Regions from separate parts of the Homo sapiens genome. Here region 1 is linked to region 2. The links are contacts of gene promoters, found by promoter capture Hi-C in human tissues and cell types (Jung and others, 2019). All regions are on one chromosome and are shown on one strand. Each heading gives the region's core, a stretch centred on a gene start or on the middle of the fragment in contact. The rest is flanking DNA. Distances are from core to core; before and after follow the strand shown. Region 1 has its middle 37 kb from the start of DNAJB8-AS1. Region 2 holds the start of DNAJB8 (DnaJ heat shock protein family (Hsp40) member B8).

Region 1 (4,377 bases), core at 1,205-3,704, 40 kb after region 2:
CATATCACGAGGACACAGGGCCCAATATGTTCATCCAGCACAGACCCAGTTCCCTGGGGTTTGTCGATGGAACGAGTCAGCTGGAGGTGGTGGCTGCTTCCACCCCTGGCCAGGTCGGCCTCACTGCTGGCCCCTGTCGCTGGGGGAATCGACAGCTCCCTCCCCCAGCTTTCCAAGGACCTCAGCGGGAAGCACAGACCCTCCCAGGGACCTCCACTTTTCCCTGCCAAGACTCCAGGCTCTGTGGTGGGTCTGGCTTGTACCCCCTCCCACACAGTTCCCCAAGGCCTCAGGCCCCCCAAGTGGAGAGACACCTGGCAACCTGGACCTGTTGGAGAAAACTAAGCCTCCGTAGGGACTCAGTTTCCCTGCTGGACTGGCTGGGGCTGCTTGCCTGGGGAAGCTTCCCTTGGTCTATCTCGGGTTCAGAAGAGGGCTTGGCTTGCCAGGGCAGGGGCAAGGCAGAAGCCCCCAGGACCCCTGCCTGCTCCTCAGGTCCAGGAGGAAACCTGCGAGTGAAAGCAGACTTAGTGGGGAAACACACCCAGCCCCAGGAGGCTGCCCACCTGGCGGGCCTCGGGGTCCTGAGCCTGCGACAGAGGTGCAGAGACAGAACCAACAGGTTAGGACAGGGAGAGAGAGAAGCAACAGACACACACATCACACACTCTGGGGCAGGGGTCATGCACCGGGGCCAGGCAGCTCCCCAGGTTTCTTGGATCTGGACTTAGAATGCCAATTGTTAATGCCAAGCCCAGAATGGCTCTGGTTGTCAATTCCCAAATGGTGTATATGTGACTGTGACTTTGTGTGTGTGCACATGCATGCGTGAAGGTACGTGAGGCTCATGGGTCTGGTGGGCATGTTTGCAGAGCCTGGCCGGTGTGTGTTATGGACGAGGGACGGAGATTGCCACCTGCCTCTAGCGTGTGTCTGTATGCATGGGAGGCAGCCTGCTGGCCTCTGTGACCGTGCCCCAGTGTCCCTGGGCAAAAGTGTGTGTGATGTGTGGCCTCCCTCAGTGGCACTGCCAGAGCCAGGCTGGGAGCTTCAGTGGAGGACCTGCCCTCAGGGCCCCTAAGTACCCCTGACCCTGGCCCTGGCCTCAGACCTGGACCCCGAGCAGGAGCCCTGGCTGGCCCACATGGGGGCTTTTGTCCATTTCTGAAGTGACAAGAGACACACAAAAGGGCTTTTAATTAAATCAAAGAAGGGGGAAACGGGCCAGCCGGGCCGCTATTATGTTACCAAACGCGAAAATGAAAACTTATTTTTAAAGCTCTGGTATTAATTTGAGATTATTCAGATAGTTAATTAAAAGTGCAGCATGTGTTAAATATTATTTCAACAAAGATTATCATCAGGCCTCCATGTAATGTGATCCTTGGGCTTGGGAGCTTTATGCAAATGGCTGCAGCCAGGAGGAAGGGCCCTCAACAGAAGGGTGGCAGGCAGGCGCAGGGAGGGCAGGAGCTCCGCGTAGGCCCACTCACTCCCCTCGGGTCTGGCTCCCCCAGACACAGATGGAGTCTCAGCCAGGGCCCCCTTTCCAAGCCCTAGGTGAGTAGGGGCCTGACTGTCTGGCGGGTCTCGAGCCCACCAGCCAGTCAGCAGCAGGGCCCCATACAGTCTTCTGGATGGCACTGTGGGCCATGAGGGAGGCTGGCCACACTGCCTGCCTCGAAGACCAGCACACCTGTAGGTGTGTGTGCATGGGCGTGAGCAGGGGGTCTGGGAACAGCAGTGTGGATGTGTGTGCTCCTGACGCTGTCACAAGACTGGGTGTGCACAGGTGACGCTTGTGTATGAGCTGGGAGGCTGGCAGCGTGTTTGTGTTCAGGGTCTCTCCATCTTACCCGTGGACTCTGGCACTGACAGTCTGGGCCCCTGCATGTGTTATGAATATTTGTGTGTGGTACACATGGGCATGGGGTGGGCACTGCTGGGTGTGTGCCCATAACCCACCCTGAGCAAGTCACATCACTGCTCAGCGCCTCAGCTTCCCCGTTTGTAGAATGGGATAGGTAATAACAGTAAACGCCTCACTGGGAGAGTTGGACGGGATTACATGGGATAACACAGACATCCAACTTAGGCCTGTCCTGTAGAGACAGAACACAAGCGGCAGGTGAGAGCCATCTACCTAATTTTATATCTTAGCCACAATTTTAAAAAGAAAAAATGAAATTAATTTTCATATTTTATTTAACCCAGTAGATCCAAAATATTACTATTTCAGCTCAATACAAAAGGTGATAAGTGTGATTGTTTAGTCTCTCTTTGTCACAGAAGGCCTTTGGAAGCTGGGGTGTACTGGGCCCTGGGTATATCTCATCTTGGACGGCCACATCACCGGTGCTCAGAGCCACGTGGGGACGTGGCGGCCTTTGAGCCTAAGGCCCTGCCCCCCAGGCCGGCTCTTCGCAGACCCGGGGCCAGCGCTCTCCCGGAGAGACTCCCGGGGCACCTCGCTGGATGGCGGGGACTGGCGGGGTAGGGGTGGGGTAGCCCGGAGACGGGTGGGCCCAGGATCCCTCGCTAACCTCCTCCCCCACACCGTGCACTGGGTCCGTGTCCCTAGGTCGTGCGTCCCAGACAGTCCGACAGGTGTTTGCCGCAGTCCTGAGACCACATTCGGGCTCCCGCCCGCGCTGCGCCTCGCCGGGGCCGCCCCTGCCAGCCCTGCCGTGCGCTCTCGGCCGCTGGGCGCGGGCCGCTCCTGCCCTCTGTCGGCGCCTGGCGGCAGCGCAGTCCCGCGGCGGGCCGAGGAGGGGGCCTGGCTGGCTACGGCCCTTCGGGGCGGAATGGGTGCGTGCCCACCCCACCGTGCAAGGGCCCCACCGTTCCAGGACATTTTCACACCTCATCCCACAGGATGCTTACGGCGGGCTGCGAGGCCAGCAGCGCCAGCCCGGTTTTACAGACGGGAAAGCGGAAGCTCAGAGAGGACCTGTGACCTGCCCAGGGCCACACAGCAGGACTGCAGGCAGGGATTCGAGCTGAGGTGGGAATCCAGGTGTTCAGCGCACTTCCATGAGTCCCGCCGGGTTCAAGTGCTGGCTCTGCCCCGCGTGGCCTGTGCAGCGAGACAGGTGACAACCTCTCTGAACCTGAGTGGCTCTGCTGTAAGCTGGGGGCGACAGTAGCCCCTCCTGCGTAGGACTGCTGTGAGGATTGAACAGGGGATGACTGTAAGGTTTCTAGCAGGTCCCTGGAACTCAGCATTCATCCAAAAAGTCGCTGAGTCACAGCATAATAACACGATTCACCTACCTCGGGGCCTTGGCACCTGCTGGGCCCCCGCCTGGAAACCCTTCCCCCGGATCTTGGATGGGATGGCCCCTCTGCCTTAATCTCGGTTCAAACTCACCTCAGCAAGGCCCGCCCCAGTCACCCTGTTAGCATTGCCCTAATTCATGCCCTTGGAGCCCTTGCCAACAGCCAGATGGTCCCGCGTGTCCCCAGGCTGCCTGGTTTCTTGCCTGCTGCCCACAGGACAGGAGGGCCCAGGAGGGCCCAGGAGGGCAGAGCTCGTTCATCCTGGCCATTTCCGTCACTGGGAGCACCGCGCCTGGCCTGGGTGGGTGCCCGATGGGAATGTGTTGAGTGAAAGGTAAAATGCCCAGTCAGGCGGGAATGCAGACAGCAGCTGGGGTGGGAAACCGCGTGGCAGTAAAACACACGCCACACAACACAGACCTTCCACGGTGAGGTGTTTACTTATGGGAGAGAAGCACCGATGCTCACACAAAACCCCACAAGAGTGTTCGGAGCAGCTTTAGTCACAGTCACCCCAAACTGGAAGCAGCCCGAGTGTCCTTCCGCAGGTGAATCCATCCGCTCGTCCACAGCCACACCTCGGGGCCCTGCTCAGTGACCCAAGGAGCTGCTGGGACGTGCAGCCACAAGCATGAATCCCAAGGCCAGGAAGCCTTGCTGGAAAGTCCACACACAGTGTGATCCCACTCATGTGACATTCTAGAAAGTGTAAAACAACAGTGATGGAAAAGAGATGAGTGAATGCTGGGGCCGGGTGTGCGAGGGGTGCTTTCACAGGGGCATGAAGCATGGGGGTGCACCTGTTCTCTCTTTTGACTCAGGTAGGGGTTACACAACTGAATGTGTTTTTCAAAACGCACAGAGCTACATGTTTAAAGGGGTGATTTTTACTGTATGTGACAAACAACAATTTTAAAAACCAGTCACAGAGTCGCAGACTCTCAGAATCATGGAGTTGACCAGTCCTACCTGCTTGGTGAGAGGCCCTGACCACCCCGCCACTGCCTCCCTGAGAAAGACCACTTCCGCCGCAGTCTCCACCTTAGACTGAACGAGCTTTAGAACTGGCCCACAGAAGATGAGAGGAGTGGGGGAGGA
Region 2 (4,449 bases), core at 1,628-4,127:
TGGCTATCTGCTGGTACAGATGTGTGCATACGCATGCACGCCTTTACTCTGGAAGATACTTCAGGCTTTTTTGTTCTATACTGTTTCCAGAAAGACCCCGGAAATGCCACACCCCGGAAACTGCAGAGCCCCGTGGGTGAATGGAGAGGCTCTGGGGGTTGGATCCTCCTGGAGGCTTCGAGTAACTGAGGAACTCAGGGTAACAGCCCTGCCTAGGGTTGCTGTATGCCAGGGGGGCTGGGTGCTGGGACCCTGGAGGAGGGGAGCTGCCCTAACTGGCTGAAGCAACTTGGAACTCAGAGGGCCCCGCAAATGATGCCTTCACTCAGGCAGTAAACCCCTACTTGGGGCTAGATCTGAGCCTCCAGAGACCACATGAGCCACCACCAGGAAGGATGTACCTGGGTTGGGATGGCAGGGAAGGGATCTGGGCAACCCAGTGGGCACCTGTCATCACTGGCTTGGAGGACTGGGCAGGAAGGCTGCCTGAAGAGGTCTGAGAGCAGAGCTGAGATCGCCCTGGCACCACTGGGGAGGACGTGAGCTCACTGGCCCTTCTACGGTTGCGTAGCCCACCGCCTTCCCACCCCATGGGCCACCAATCTGCATGTAAGCCTGCCATGGGCCTGTCTGCCTACCATGGCTTCCACTGGCTCACCAGGCAGGCTGCCCTTTCATCTGTCTCTGCCCACCCATTATCGACACTGCCAGGATGCCAGCACACGCACACACAGCTCCTTCTCCATTCTGAGCTCCTCACAGTAACCCTGTGAGAGGGGACCATCATTACTTCCCTTTTACAGATGAGATGAGGACACTGGGGCACAGCCAGGTTATTGACTTCCCCAAGGACACATGGCTGGGGAGTGGCAGTGCTGGGGTTGGAACCCAGGCTGTGTCACCTGACAGGCTGAGCTCTTCCCCACTGTGGGATCTGCCCCTTGGCCCGTCTGTCTGTCCATCCGCCCATCCACTCTGTGACTGCCCACCGTTCAGCCCCTTCATTCGCCTGCCACTCTGTCCATCCAGCCGCCCGTCCATCCATCCATCGCTGTCGCCCATCCATCCTGGAGCTAATGCAGTTAGAGGACCAGGGGCCCTGAGGGGAGAGAAGGCCCCAAACTGCCCATCTGGCCGGGCCAGGGTGGCCGGGGGTGGGGTGGGCTGCCCAGGCCAGGCAGGCCTGCAGGGGGCTGGAGGGAATTAGCTGAGTGACTGCCAGGATCATCTAATTAGGAACTCTAGTGATAAGCAGATAGGATCGGGGGTGATTAGAATCCTTTTAAAAAGCCACTCCATTAATTACAGAGACAGAGAGGGGCCTCTGGCTGCTCCGAATACCAATTGGCTGCTTAATCGGCTCCATCAGCTCGCCCGGGGGAGACCTTCCTGGTACTGCTGTGTGACCTTCGGTGTGCCCTGCCCTCTCTGGGCCTCGCTTGGTCGCTGAAGGTCCTTCTCTCCCTGGCCATGGCTCGGGGTTGGCTTTAGGGTGGGCCTGAGATGAGGGACATGGGACATCTGAGGCCAGGAAGCCTAGGCTGGCTCCCCAGAGAGGGCAAATCCCCAAAAGCACCCACTGGTGAATGAGGACAGAGAGGCTTGAAGAGGGGAGGTGGCCTGACAGAATTGACGGTGGAGCGTGTGGGGCCTAAGTGTGCGCTCATGCCTGTGTGTCCCTGTCCCTCCAGCAGGCCCTATGGAGGCCTCAGAGCCCCTGATGCTCCCCACTGGCTCCCCAAAAACTGGCGTGGAAGGAGACTAGCCTGAACCCTTTGCAGAAGGGAAACTCCTCTGCACACTGCCCGGCTCCACGGTCCACAGCTCCCTTCATGGGGAGCTCCCCACAGGGGCCTCCATCTCAGGATGCCCTTGATGGTGAGGTGTGGGACCTGCTCCCAGGTGACACACCTGTTCCCGTAAGTCCTACCGAGTGGTCTGTTCTGTGTGCCCTAAGACAGCCCTGAATGGGCGGCAGTGAGGGGGTCTCCAGCCCTGTCTCCATCCTGGCTGACTCCCACAGACCCATCCCAGGAACAAGGGTTGGAGCAGGGCAGTGGCTGGAAGAAATTTCCCCTGGGAGTACAACGCAGACCAGAGCCAGGGTCTCCAACAAGGCAGGGAGGGCCAGGACGGGGAGGCGGCCACAGGATTCTTGGATGCCTCATCATACTAGGTCCTTTGTCTCTTAACATTGTTTTCACCACCCCTCCTCCACTGTCCTGATTCCATCGTCATGGAAACTTCAGGCTTCACCTTTACAATGTCAGGCCACCAACACCCTCAGCAGTGTCACCATCACCATCAACACCCCAGCGTCCCATCCCCATCTCCTCTACCACTGCCACCAGCCCCACTATCACTATCATCTCTGTCACCGTCACCACGGTGCTCTCCACCCGTGTCAGCATTGTGTCACCACCACATCACTGTCACCACACTTCCTCCACCTCCATCTCCACCCACCATCCCATCTGTGACATCACCTTATCAGCTCTGCCACCAGTATCAACCACTCACACCGCCTTTGCCATCACCACCGTCATTGCCCCCTCTACTACCACCACCATCACCACCACCGGGTCTGCCTCAGCCAGACCCACCACTGCCTCTAATTAGACTGCCACCATCATCACTGCCACCACCACTGCCCCTCCAATGCCTTCCTGATGTCACCATCTGCTTTCTCTCTGCTATCCTCACACCCAACTCCATCACAACCACCACCTTCATCTGAGCCGCCATCACCCTCACAGTACACAGCCCTCAAATGTGTACCAAGGAGGAGGACATTTACTACACGCTGCACCCTGAACAGTCTGGGACCAGCGGTCAGGGAACAAGGAATCGAGATGCTCACCTGCAGCTCCCAGGTGAGCGGCTCTCTAGAGCTTGCCTGGGAGCTGCTGAGGAGCTCACGGTATTCCAGGAAGCTCCCCATCCATGCCTCAGCCTGTGGCTCAGAAGCAGGGTCTTCGCAGAAGATTGCCCCGAGCTGTTGCAAAGCTCACCATTGTCACCTGCCTGCAACGGCCTCTCTTTTCCACTCTCCAAATCCCTTGTATTGGCAGGCTCTAGTCTGGAATTATACCGGTGATGGGATTCTGGAAAATCCCTCAGATTTCTCCAGGATGCAAGGAGACCATGGAAGAGGTTGGTGTAATGCCAAGTTAGCAACAGAAAATACAGAGCCCCACACCTCAGTGCCATCACCATCGCCATCGGCACTCACACCAGCATGTCCACCACTGTGTCCTTCTCACCCCTCGGCACCCCCCTCTACCATTGCCTCTTCCACAACCACCCTCACCACCATCCTCCATTAATAGCACAATTCCTGCCTCCTATCCCATCACCACCACGGGTGTCCCCGGCACCAGCAGCACCAACACTGCTCCCAGCAGAGCCATCGTTACCAGCCCCGCTGTCAGTCCCATCTTGAGCATCTGGCATATGTTGGAGAACTGCTCACTCCCTCTTCCCCATGGGAATCTCAGGCCTCTCTTCCTATTGCCCTGAGATTTGCAGAACCTTCCTGAAGGAAACATTCTTTGCCCCATGGATACTGGCCTTGACCATGGGATGCAGCAAGACTGCCACACATCATGGCCCAACAGAAGCTTTCAGAGGCAGCCCAAGTTCCTGCTGTCTCTGAGTGGCACTGTCATGAGAGAGGGGTGTGCAGGTCAGAGCTGATTCTCCAGCCTGGGACCCACAGTGAGAAGCTATGGGAGGTGGGGCCCTGGCAGCTGCCTGTAGGCACCAGTGAGTGAAGTGGGGGGAACTAGATGTTTGTCGTGAGCCACTGAGAGGTGGAAGCTGTCACTGTGGTATAGCCGAACAAGATACAACCTCTGCTACCTCCACCACCTTCACCTTCATCATCACCATTACTGTCACCACTGCCAACCACACCAATGGCTCACTAGGAGCCATTCCCATCACCTCCTCATCATACCTGCACCATCACTGCCAACCACAACAAAGGCTCGCTGTTACCATCTCCTCTGGCATGACCATCACCACCACCACTACCATCATCAATTACTCTCAAGCACAAGCCTTGCTGCTGTCACCACCAGCATCACCATCATCATGATCAACTCCACCATCACCCATAATTACTCTCCCCCTCACACCCACCATGACCATTACCTCCACATCAACACTGCTCCCATGGTCACCTCTACTATATAATGACACCTTATCCATCTCCATGGACACCCACCGTGCCTCTCCCCACCAGCAACACAGTCAACAGCAGTGCCTCTCCCACTGCCACCGCCATCATGGAGAACTGTGCAGGGCAAGCATCTTTCTCCCGCCCCAGGAACAAGCCTGCAAGGGACAGCAGGTGCTAACTGCTAACCGAGACATAGTGACAAAAATCCAGCCACAGAGATAAAGAATCAGGTTCATCTGTAGCTACATCCAGTGGAGAAGTTCTGC

Evidence for each region. The method cuts DNA at HindIII sites, captures the fragments that hold promoters and counts their contacts. A contact is called where the count stands out against the background at its distance.
Region 1: a contact is called between a fragment that was not itself captured here and the fragment with the promoter of DNAJB8 in region 2, in 1 of the 25 tissues and cell types used here (IMR-90 fibroblasts).

Annotation. Positions count from the first base shown.
Region 1 is chr3:128,424,851-128,429,227 of GRCh38, reverse strand. It overlaps a transcript of EEFSEC not described here. Among named protein-coding and RNA genes, the nearest start is that of DNAJB8-AS1, 37 kb to the left of the region's middle. RefSeq lists enhancers at 1,182-1,740, 2,819-3,018, silencers at 2,429-2,478, 2,509-2,818 and a cis regulatory region at 2,266-2,946. The HindIII fragment of the contact is 9,653 bases long and covers 1-4,377 here.
Region 2 is chr3:128,465,318-128,469,766 of GRCh38, reverse strand. DNAJB8 (DnaJ heat shock protein family (Hsp40) member B8) reads left to right here and starts at 2,877. Exons shown (of 3, transcript NM_153330.6): 1 at 2,877-3,153; 2 at 4,331-4,449. The region is part of intron 2 of DNAJB8-AS1 (DNAJB8 antisense RNA 1); the gene reads right to left. The HindIII fragment of the contact is 25,608 bases long and covers 1-4,449 here.